Regions from separate parts of the Homo sapiens genome. Here regions 2 and 3 are each linked to region 1. The links are contacts of gene promoters, found by promoter capture Hi-C in human tissues and cell types (Jung and others, 2019). All regions are on one chromosome and are shown on one strand. The core of a region is centred on a gene start or on the middle of the fragment in contact, and the rest is flanking DNA. Distances in the headings are between cores, read along the strand shown.

Region 1 (3,729 bases), core at 747-3,246:
TTTATTCCTTAACAGCCTAAAAGTTATCAGAAGTGAAAACTTTTCATCCTCTCATAAGAAAGCTTTCCAACATATCCTCATTTTGAATAGCATACCTGGAACACAGTGGTAGCTTGACACATATTTGTTGAATTGATGAAGAGCTTGAAAAACGAATATAACGTCTTTATTATATAATGCCTATTCTTTCCAGACTCACTTTGTGTCCCGCCTACTTTATCCTCTAATAATGAGTAACAGTATGTAATTTTCATTCATGCATCAAATACTTATTTATCCACTATTATGTGCCGGCACATTGGTGCACTGTTTCAAGTAGGCTCCTTCTTTTCCTTGCTATCCGTGTTTGTGGAAATTCATGAAACCATTCAGCGAATACCATATTTATTGTGGTTTTCCTATCTTCCTTCATTCAGTTCAGTTACTTCTCCCAGACCATCCCTGACCCCTTGGGCAGCTAGTGCCTGCCTCTATCTTAGCCCTGATTACATCAATTTCATGTTTGTCACTCCCTACCCTCATTTCTAACCCACAATACCGTTATGATCTCAGAAGGCAGGAATTGAAGTTTGGTTCAGTTATGTGTCCCCAGGGCCCAGCAAAAACCTAGGACACGGCCAAACTGTCTATATAAGTATTGAGATGAATAACTGCTACTTTTTCTTTCTTTCTTTCTTTTTTTTTTTTTTTTTGGAGAGACAGTTTCACTCTTGTTGCCCAGGCTGGACTGCAATGGCGCGATCTTGGCTCACCGCAACCTCCGCCTCCCGGGTTCAAGTGATTCTCCTGCCTCAGCCTCCCAAGTAGCTGGGATTACAGGCATGCGCCACCACGCCCGGCTAATTATGTATTTTTAGTAGAGACGGGGTTTCTCCATGTTGGTCAGGCTGGTCTCAAACTCCCGACCTCAGGTGATCCGCCTGCCTCGGCCCCCCCAAAGTGCTGGGATTACAGGCGTGAGCCACCGCGCCCGGCCTAATTGCTACTCTTTATTGAACAACATGGATTAACATTTTGAAGTCTCACCACATCAAGTGAATTAACTATTATTAACATGTCATCCATGAGAAAAAAGAGGCTTGAAAAAGTTTAGAAACTTGCTTAAGGTCACACAGTGGTGGAGCCTGTTATTGCAGGAATCTGAAGAATGAAGTCACCTTTGATTCTAAATGAGTAAGTCTCCTTCTCACTATTTTTTCTTAAAGTTTTCATTTAGCCCTTGCAAAGTCTTCCTTCTTTAGACCAATGACTCCTCATCTTGATATTGTAAGTGGGGGAAATACCCTCTTTTTTCACTTTGGAAATTATTCAATCTCTCTTTGGAAGAAACATGATTTTAAACTTTCTGGACGCTCCTTCTGTGGAAGAATCCGCGCAGGAGCCCTGGGGGCACATAATAGGTTCAGTGAGAAAGACTGTCATTCGAAATGGAATGCGGGAACTAAGATTTTTTTTTTCCGGGAAGAAAACATAACGAATTTAGCAGAGGGGAGAATGGTCCTTCTGTTAGGTGCACAAATCCTAAGACTTCAGGGAGTTTGGCGGCTCACACTTAAGGTAGCTGCGGGTGACTGTGTTGCCCACAGCTAAGATGGCTGCTAATGACCATCTCCTTTGGCTGGGTCTGTTCTTTTGCTCGCTAGTATTTTCATCGAGAATTAAACAGAATAAAATTTAGTAAAAGTTGGCACCCCCTTGCTAAGTAGATAAAATAAGAAGGTGGCACTGTTTGTTTGAAAAACCTTCTACGGCGCAAATTGTTCTTGCCCTTAACCAAAATGGTCGTTAAGGTTGTCCCGAGGTTTGAAGCTTCCAGCCCTTAACTAAGATGGCGCCTGGAGGCCCGTTAAAAATTACCTTGCCCTTTTTTCTGCCCTCTACCAACACGGCTTCCGTGGCGTCGTTCACGTGACATTCCTGGACTACGGCGCGGGAGAGGGGGTAGGAGGGCCCTTGAAGGGTGCGCGTTCCCGTGGCGGTGCACCGGGTAGGTTTCAGTCAGAGTCACTATGGCGGCCGGCGCTGGCAAGGTAAGCTGAGGCGGTGGTGGCGGCTAGGGAGGTAGGACCCGTCGTGGCGTCCTGGCTCCAAATCCTCGTAGCCTGCTTGCGGAGAGGTCGGCGGAGGTCGTGCCTAGCGGTGTGGGCTGGCGGGGGTCTGGCTGGAGGGGGCGACGGCTGAGGCGGGCGGGCTGAGGCGCCTGACGGCCGTTTGTTTTGATGTTTTCCCCACCAGGTCGGAAAGTTTCCTGCCTCGTCGGGCGCAGCTTGAGCTTGCCCCATCGGCCGCGATCGGTGGAGGCTGCGGCGGATCCAGCCCGGGGCCTCAAGGCCTCTCCCCAACCTCCGGGCCAGTCTCCCTCCCCCACCTTCTCGTCCGCCGGGAGCTGCGGCTGCCGTCCCTGAGATGCGACCCTCGCGGGGGCGACCCTGAGGGGAGGCGGCCCATGTGCTGAGCGGCGGCCCAGAAGCCTAGGCGTCCGGGGACCAACTTCCTGCCGCCTGGGAACTCGAGCCTCCCGGTGTCGCGCCTCGCTCGGTCCGCACCGGCCTGCGGAGCCGGGTCCCCGCCCTGGTCGCGGGGACGCTCGCCAGGTGCCCAGGAGTCCCGACTTGGCCACTGCCCGCGCCCCGCCGGCCTCCACGCCTCGCGCGGAGAACCTCAGCCACCGCCGTCTCGGATCGTGCCAGGCCGGGGACCGCGTCCCCCTTCCCGGGGCGGCCTCCGCTCAGCAGGGGCGATGCAGACTGTCCCGCCGGCCGTCTAGAGCCCCTCCGTCTCCGTCACCTCTCGCCCCTTCACTCCGGGCGAGGACTGGCGGTGGCTGCCCAGAGGTGCCCAGCCACACCTTCCTTCGGCCCAAAAGGACTTTCCTGGCCGCGCCGAACCGACCCTTCATTCATGCTGCAGTGCTGCAACGTTTCCGCCACCAAGGGGGAAAAGCGGCCGCGATCTCAAACCAAACACAAGAATTGGCGTGTGACTCATCTGCTTGGATACCTCCAGTCCCCAAACTGTGTTCCAGGAGTTTTCTTGGCCGAAGCTGCCCGATGTTTGAGCCTTTTCTTCCCAGAGAAGAAGATGGACTGAAAGCTGCCAGTTGGGGACTTTTTGTGATCACGGCGTTGCAGCGTTTTAAAGGAGGTGATGGGGCTTGCGCTGGCTTGTCTTCCCACCCAAGTGAAGAGTTGATGTTCACTGGTTATGCTTAGACAATGTGCAGTTTGTGTTAATTTAAAATTTTGGGTGGGATAGGGGCATAGGCTTGTGAAGGGCAGTCCGGATCCGGAGGAACTCCTCTTTGTCCCTGGTAGGAGAGACACCCCCAGTCTATCCTCGATGCCGTCAGCCTTGGCCATCTTCACTTGCCGCCCGAACTCGCACCCGTTTCAGGAGCGTCATGTCTACCTGGACGAGCCCATCAAAATCGGCCGCTCAGTGGCCCGCTGTCGACCAGCGCAGAATAATGCCACTTTTGATTGCAAAGTGCTATCAAGGAACCACGCTCTCGTCTGGTTTGATCACAAGACGGGCAAGGTAATGTCACCACATTGTCCAGCGGCATTGTTTAACAAACTTTTTTTCCCCTTTTGCCCTCCCTGAGAGGACTAATGTATGCAGGATCCCAGGGTTTGCATCCAGAGGAGGCTTTGCGCAAAGCCACGAATCAACTGTTTGTGTGCCTGGTTCTAGTGGAAATTTGATTGAGGTGGTTGAATGGAAAACAGA
Region 2 (3,729 bases), core at 330-2,829, 190 kb before region 1:
ATGAAGCCAAACTTTTTAAAATTAGAAACTACAAATGGTTATACTGATTAGTGTCTAGCCTAGAGTGGTAACCATGCTTTACTAATTCAGTTATGAAATACATTATTTATAATGCATTAGCTGTATTAGCTGTTGCTTTTTTGATGTTCAGGATAACTATGTTATCTCATTTCTGCATTTAATTAATAGCTCGAGTATTAAAAGCCCACTCCCTTCAAGAAAAGCTTTGATTTTCCCCAGTCATGAAAGCCCTTGTTTCAAATTCTTTAATCTCTGAACCTAGTATCATAAGAATTTCCTCTTTTGATAACATCTGTACTTTCATATTCTGCTCACTATCAAATGTATTGTTAACACTTAGTAAGTTTGAAAATGAAGGGGTTTTATCTGCATTTGACATTGAACCTTGAAGTACTTTAAGTACTCCAAGGGGAAAATTAAAGTGGAAGTTTCTTCGGATCTTGTTTAGAAAAAACTATAAATAAAAAATTGATGCTACCAAATTGTGCCTTCCTAAATAACATTTTTGAGAGCATTTTAACAGCAGTTTACAAATATGTAAATAATAGATTAAAACCAAATCTTGATTCTCTTGTGAATTTTTTTTTCATTTTAAAAATATGTTTTTGGGCTGTTTTCAAAGAAAGATGTTGATAGAACCCTTAGAGTGACTTGGGAGAAAACAAAGTGTCACATCAAAAAGTTGAGAAACATTTTGAAAGAAAAAATTCGAACATGCCCATGAAAAAAGCATACAGCTTCCACATTAACACTGGCTAGATTAAACTCTAGTCAGAAAAACTCAGCACTTAACAGACATTCCATGTCCTATATCCTTAATTTTGATGTTTTCTGACTAAACAATATACTCAGATTGTATACAGGCATTTCACATTATTAGGACATGGAATGTTATTGTGAAGTGCCATATACTGTGATCAAATCTCCAGTATACGGATACGTTAAAATGATTGGAGTCCAAAGGTAGGGAACACTAAGAAAATGTATAAATAGCATACACATTTCTTTGTACTCATGAGTTAGAATGCAGTGTTATTCAGAAATGTCTGTTTAAAGCACCTATGTGATTGCATTTTTCTATTACATTTGGATTTTTTAGTACATTTAATTTTAAGAAAACATGGGAAATCTAGCGACTTTCTATGGTAAACCACATTTTATAATGTCACAAGTTCTTGCTATAGGAATTAACATTCTAGAATTTTATATTGATTATAAAAGAGTATTTCAGAACATATTATTCTGTTAAAATGAACTCTTGCACAGTTGCCGCTACAGCAAATGTGTCTGCCAATAATCAAAATTCATGAGCAAACAATCGTTTCTGGCTGTAATGTATGTTCTTTTTGAAATTCTGTATGCTAAAATCAGTTGTTTCAAAATTTCAAGAATTCCACTGAGTAGTGATTTTTCTGAGTACTAAGCTATGATCTCATCAGAATGTGCTGGTTTCAGTCTGGAGATAGATTTCTGAGGAGCCTAATACAAGGGAGAGAATGTCCAAAGAACACTACTGTGGAAAGTTCTTACGATGGAAATTGACATCTTTTGTATCTCATTCTCCAGCCGTGAAATAAAGGCAGAGGTTCCCTGCAAACTAGTTTGGTTGGGATAAATCCAATATTTATATATAATGAAAAATAAAAGTTTGCATTATTAGTTTATCACAAGACCCATGTGACAACTCAGAAAATATTCTCAGCATAATTTTTTTAAGAGATAGAGTCTCACTGTTACCCAGGCTGGAGTGCAGTGGTGCAGTCATAACTTACTACAGCCTCAAACTGCGGGGCTCAAATGATCCTCCTGCCTCAGCGTCCCAAGTAGTTGAGATTACAAGCCCAACCTTCCATAACTGAAAACTAACTTTCTTTTTTTCTTTTTTTATTATTATACTTTAAGTTCTAGTGTACATGTGCCCAACGTGCAGATTTGTTACATAGGTATACATGTGCCATGTTGGTTTGCTGCACCCGTTAACTCGTCATTTACATTAGGTATTTCTCCTAATGCTATCCCTCCCCCAGCCCTGAAAATGAATTTTTTAAACACAAATAAAAAATATTTCAGTGTTTTGAGAATTTTAATAATTTGCTTAATATAGTACAGGAAGGCAACACTATCTAGAGGGCCAGGCATAGTGGCTCTTGACTGTAATCACAACATTTTGGGAGGCTGAGGCAGGAGGATCACTTGAGCTGAGGAGTTCAAGACCAGCCTTGGCAACATTGTGAGACCCTATCTCTGCAAAAAATAAAATTAACCAGGCATGGTGGTGCATGCCTGTAGTCCCAGCTGCTCAGGAGGCTGAGGCCAGAGGATCACTTGAGCCCATGAGGTCAAGCCTGCAGTGAGTTGTGATCAAGGTGCGCTGCACTCCAGCCTGGGTAATAGAGCAAGACCCTGTCTTCAAAAAACCACTCTAGATTTCATGTTGTAGGGGGTAGGGAGGACAATTTTTAACAGCTTTAACTGACATGGGTAATATATAAGTTCTGTGTTCTCACTTTATATGAAAGTACTTTTTTAAATGTTAAAAATACTAGAGCTGTATTAACTTCGTGATTTTATTTTTCTTCTTAGCACTAACTTCAAAATAACCATACAGTACTGCTTGTAATTTTTGTATTTTTAGTAGAGACAGGGTTTCACCATATTGGCCAGGCTGGTCTTGAACTCCTGAACTCAAGTGATCTGCCTGCCTCAGCCTCTGAAAGTGCTGGGATTACAGGCATGAGCCACGGTACCCGGCCTAAATTTTAATTTTATATATAAATGGCAAAATAATCTTAAATATAGTAAATCTGTTCACCTATCTGCTATGCTAGCAAATTCTGGGTTGTCAAAAATCCATGTTCATACTGTCAGTGTTAGATTTTTACTCATAATTTAAAATTTCCCCGCAAAATTTCACAGAAAACTGAATTATTCATCTCTATCTTCTGTCCAATTTATGTAATGAATGTATGTCAAAGCATTTATATAACACAGTCCATTTTGCCCAGTAATTCACTTTAATGATGTTATCATGAAGTATTGATGTACTTTTTTTTTAGTGTATTGAAGTATTCCTAGGTTGCATTTGTGCTAGTTTCATACCATTTGTGTTCCTTATATATTGAAGATGGTTCAGTAGGGGAAATGGATAGGCTTTATTTAGTTGGCTTTCTTATACTGGATAATATAAACACTTTTTTTTTCTTTTTTGAGACAGGGTCTGGCTTTGTCACCCAGGCTTGGAGGGCACTGGTGCCATCACGGCTTACTGCAACCTCCACCTCCTGGGCTTATGCAATCCTCCCACCACAGCCTCCCCAAATAGCTGGGACTACAGGTGCGCACCGCCACACCTGGCTAATTTTTGTATATTTTATAGGCAAAAAAAAAAAAAAAAATGGTTTCACCATGTTGCCCAGGCTGGTCTTGAAATTCTCAGTTCAAGCAGTCCACCCACCTCGGCCTCCCAAAGTGCTGATATTACAGACATGAGCCACCCCACCCAGTCAGCACACATTTTTTTTTTTTTTAAATAAGACAGGGTGTTGCTGTTGCCCAGGCTGGAGCGCAGTGGCATGATCATAGCTCACTGCAGCATCAAACTCCAGGGCTTAAGCGATCCTCCCACCTCAGCCTCCTGAGTAGCTGGGACTATAGGTGCATGCCACCATGCCTGGCTAATTTTTTAAATTGTTTGTAGAGATGGGGGTC
Region 3 (3,729 bases), core at 795-3,294, 130 kb before region 1:
ATAAAAATATTTACCCATTTCACTAAATGAATGCAATCATTTCAAGTTTCCTACTGAAGTATAAAAATTCATTCACTTACGGCTGGGCGTGGTGGCTCACATCTGTAATCCCAGCACTTTGGGAGGCTGAGGCGGGTGGATCACCTAAGGTCAGGAGTTTGAGACCAACCTGACCAACATGGTGAAACCCCATCTCGACTAAAAGTACAAAAATTAGCTGGGTATGGTGGCGCACGCCTGTAATCCCAGCTACTGGGGAGGCTGAGGCAGGAGAATAGCTTGAACCTGGGAGGTGGAGGTTGCAGTGAGCTGAGATGGCGCCATTGCACTTCAGCCTGGGTGACAGAGCAAGACTCCCTCTCAAAAAAATAAAATCACTCACTTAATAAGAAGTATAACTCTGGAATATAAAGTTACTATTTTCCAAAAATATTTCAGTAAATGTAGAAGCAATTTATACCATAATGTATTCAGACTGGCTGACATGGAAAGGGACAGGCAAAAACATGTAGGATCCATGAAGTCCGGCTTTCTAACAGTTAACACAGAAATAGTATAATGATGACAAGAATGGGGAGGCAAAATAAACAGAACAACACAAGTCTAGTGGTGAAGCTAGTAAAATGGAATGAGGCATGATTATCAAACAACAAAATCTTTTAAAATTTTTTAAAAATATTTTTTCTTTTATAGACAGGGTCTCACTCTGCTGCTCAGGCTGAGTGAAGTGGCATGATCACAGCTCACTGCAGCCTCGAACTCCTGGGCATGCACTATCCTCCCACCTTAGCCTCCCAAGTAGCTGGGACCACAGGCATGTACCACCATGTCTGACTACTTTTTTTTTTTTTTGAGGCGGAGTCTCGCTCTGTCGCCCAGGCTGGAGTGCAGTGGGGCGATCTCGGCTCACTGCAAGCTCCGCCTCCCAGGTTCACACCATTCTCCTGCCTCAGCCTCCCCAGTAGCTACGAATACAGGCGCCCGCCACCACGCCTGGCTAATTTTTTGTATTTTTAGTAGAGACAGGGTTTCACTGTGTTAGCCAGGATGGTCTCGATCTCCTGACCTTGTGATCCACCCATCTCAGCCTCCCAAAGTGCTGGGATTACAGGCGTGAGCCCATGCCCGGCCATCTGACTACTTTTAAAAAACTTTTTTTAGAGATGGGGTCTCAGGTGCAGTGGCTCATGCCTGTAATCCCAGGACTTTGGGAAGCCAAGACAGATCACTTGAGGTCAGGAGTTCGAGACCAGCCTGGCCAACATGGTGAAACCCCGTCTCTACTAAAAATACAAAAATTAGCCAGGTGTGGTGGCACATACTTGTAATCCCAGCTACTTGAGAGGCCGAGGCAGGAGGACGGCTTCAACCTGGGAGGTGGAGATTGCAGTGAGCAGAGATCACACCACTGCACTCCAACCTGGGTGACAGTGCAAGACTCCGTCTCAAGAAAAAAAAAAGAATAATATAATGTAGTTGCTACTTTTAAAAAAGAAGAGGAAGAAGTAAAAATAATTGGGAGATTTGGGTTTTTAAAAAGGTAGCAAATGAAGGAGAATCTAGCAATAATTGAGTTTATTCAACTAAAATAATTATTTTTTTGAGACAGGTCTTGCTCTGTCACCCAGGCGGGAGTGCAGTGGTGTGATTATGGCTCACTGCAGCCTCAATCTCCTAGGCTGAGGCCATCCCCTCACCCACCTGAGCCACCTGAGTAGCTGAGACTGCAGGCATGTGCCACCATGCTCTGCTAATTTTTTGATTTTTTGTAGAGACGGGGTCTCACTTTGTTTGCCTAGGCAGATCTTGAACTCCTGAGCTTAAACGATCCTCCTGCCTCAGCCTCCTGAAGTGCTGAGATTACAGGTATGAGCCACCACATACGACCAATATTTTTACCAGAATATTTCATAAAATCAATGCACTGCTAGGAAAGATATGAAGTCACTTAACTGATCTGTCTAAACAGAACTGTTCACCTGTTCATAGTGAAGTACACAGGGTTTTCATTTGAAGTCCTTAAAAAAACAAACAACCTGGCAGGAAACAAAAGGAATCTCATAATGACGAGTTTCATTAACTATGCATTTTCTCCAAGCAGTCCAACCCCATTCAGAAATAACACAAAATATCCAAGTGCTTTAAAATCCAAGGCCTTTAATTTAGTTTTTGGTAATGACCATAAATGCCTTCACAAAACCTCTTTTTCACTGTAAATAGAAGGCACTAGGCATTACATAATACCCTTAAAGCAGTGATTCCTCCTGATGCTGGTAGAGATAAAACATTTAATGTCAGGGTTTACATAGTAACAAATTCTTCTTAAAAAAAAAAAGACAAATCTAAAAATCACGCACCAAAAATTATCAGTCACTCTTTCCCAGGTTCCCAGTGCAAATTTACATCATTTTTACAAGTACATAGTTTGAAATTAAGAGATAAACTAGGTATGATATGGTTTTCAACATGTGTTAGGTTTCAGTTAAATACAGTAAAAATGAAGACACCATTATCATGCTAATTGGCATCTTTTGCTACTGTTTAGCTGTGCAAAATAGACTTGAAATGATACATCCTGTAGTGGCATAATTTAAAAGATCCTTGATATGACACCAACAACTTACAAATTCTGGTCACAAACTGTATATAAATTGTACAATTATTAAAATATACCTTTTTGAAAAATAATAAGATGACCATTTATACCTAAATAAGGTTTCCCAGAAAGTTATGAAATACTTTTAGCATATAAAAGTAGTTGCTCCTTTTCTGAAAAGTCAGCTGTTGTTTCACAAAATAACTCATATGATCCAAGGCAAACGATTTCTTTCAAATGCCATATTCTCTCTATGACTTTGAGGTATGCTTCAAGAGACTGTATCCATAAGAACAGGGCACATTTGGGTATTAGACCACAGTTACAAACGCAAGGAGTCTTTCTTGGGTCAGGAATGCCCTTAAGAGTTATATCGACAGAGAACAAAAGATAGCTTCTGAAGCCATATCCTTTACAAATACATACAACTAAATTTGGTTATTTAGAGGATAATTCAAGACACAGCTATTAACCACATGCTGTGTCATGTGTGCCTATTTTAGTTAGTGGCTTCTGGCCAGGTGCGGTGGCTCACACCTGTAATCCCAGCACTTTGGGAGGCCGAGGCGGGCGGATCACCTGAGGTCGGGAGTTTGAGACCAGCCTGACCAACATGGAGAAACCCCATCTCTACTAAAAATACAAAATTAGCCAGGCGTGGTGGCACATACCTGTAATCCCAGCTACTCAGGAGGCTGAGGCAGGACAATCACTTGCACCCGGGAGGTGGAGGTTGCAGTCAGCCGAGATTGCGCCATTGCACTCCAGCCTGGGCAACAAGAGCAAAACTCCATCTCAAAAAAAAAAAAAGTGGCTTCTGTAGGATACTCTTATTCAAACACAAACCAAACAACCCTACTCTACCAAATCACATTCTTCTATTTTTGGCAAGGTAGTATTGTTTAAACAAAACAGAAACAAAAACAACAACAACAAAAGCTAACCATGACAGTGACTCAGGCGAAAGTTCCCATGTCAAACAATAGTAGGAAAAGTGTTTTAAGAAACATTAATGTTGGGAAAAATAAAACGCTACCAAACAAATAATGCCAGAAATCAATCTTATCATCACTCAAATAAGTATCACATAAAAAACTCATGAATGCCTTTGAAATAAGAATAGTTCAGTTTAA

The links. Contacts are between HindIII fragments. The study calls those that stand out against the background at their distance.
Region 2: a fragment that was not itself captured here is called in contact with the fragment with the promoter of SLMAP in region 1 in 1 of the 25 tissues and cell types used here (hippocampus).
Region 3: a contact is called between a fragment that was not itself captured here and the fragment with the promoter of SLMAP in region 1, in 1 of the 25 tissues and cell types used here (hippocampus).

Annotation. Positions count from the first base shown.
Region 1 is chr3:57,754,313-57,758,041 of GRCh38, forward strand. SLMAP (sarcolemma associated protein) reads left to right here and starts at 1,997. Exons shown (of 25, transcript NM_001377540.1): 1 at 1,997-2,030; 2 at 2,236-3,537. The coding sequence starts at 3,340. RefSeq lists enhancers at 1,103-2,005, 1,595-1,874, 1,905-2,084, 2,006-2,907 and a silencer at 2,455-2,734. The HindIII fragment of the contact is 9,488 bases long and covers 1-3,729 here.
Region 2 is chr3:57,561,455-57,565,183 of GRCh38, forward strand. It overlaps PDE12 (phosphodiesterase 12), which reads left to right. Exons shown (of 3, transcript NM_177966.7): 3 at 1-3,729. Among named protein-coding and RNA genes, the nearest start is that of PDE12, 7.0 kb to the left of the region's middle. The HindIII fragment of the contact is 8,870 bases long and covers 1-3,729 here.
Region 3 is chr3:57,623,317-57,627,045 of GRCh38, forward strand. It overlaps DENND6A (DENN domain containing 6A), which reads right to left. Exons shown (of 20, transcript NM_152678.3): 20 at 2,138-3,729. It also overlaps a transcript of PDE12 not described here. Among named protein-coding and RNA genes, the nearest start is that of ARF4-AS1, 27 kb to the left of the region's middle. The HindIII fragment of the contact is 7,622 bases long and covers 1-3,729 here.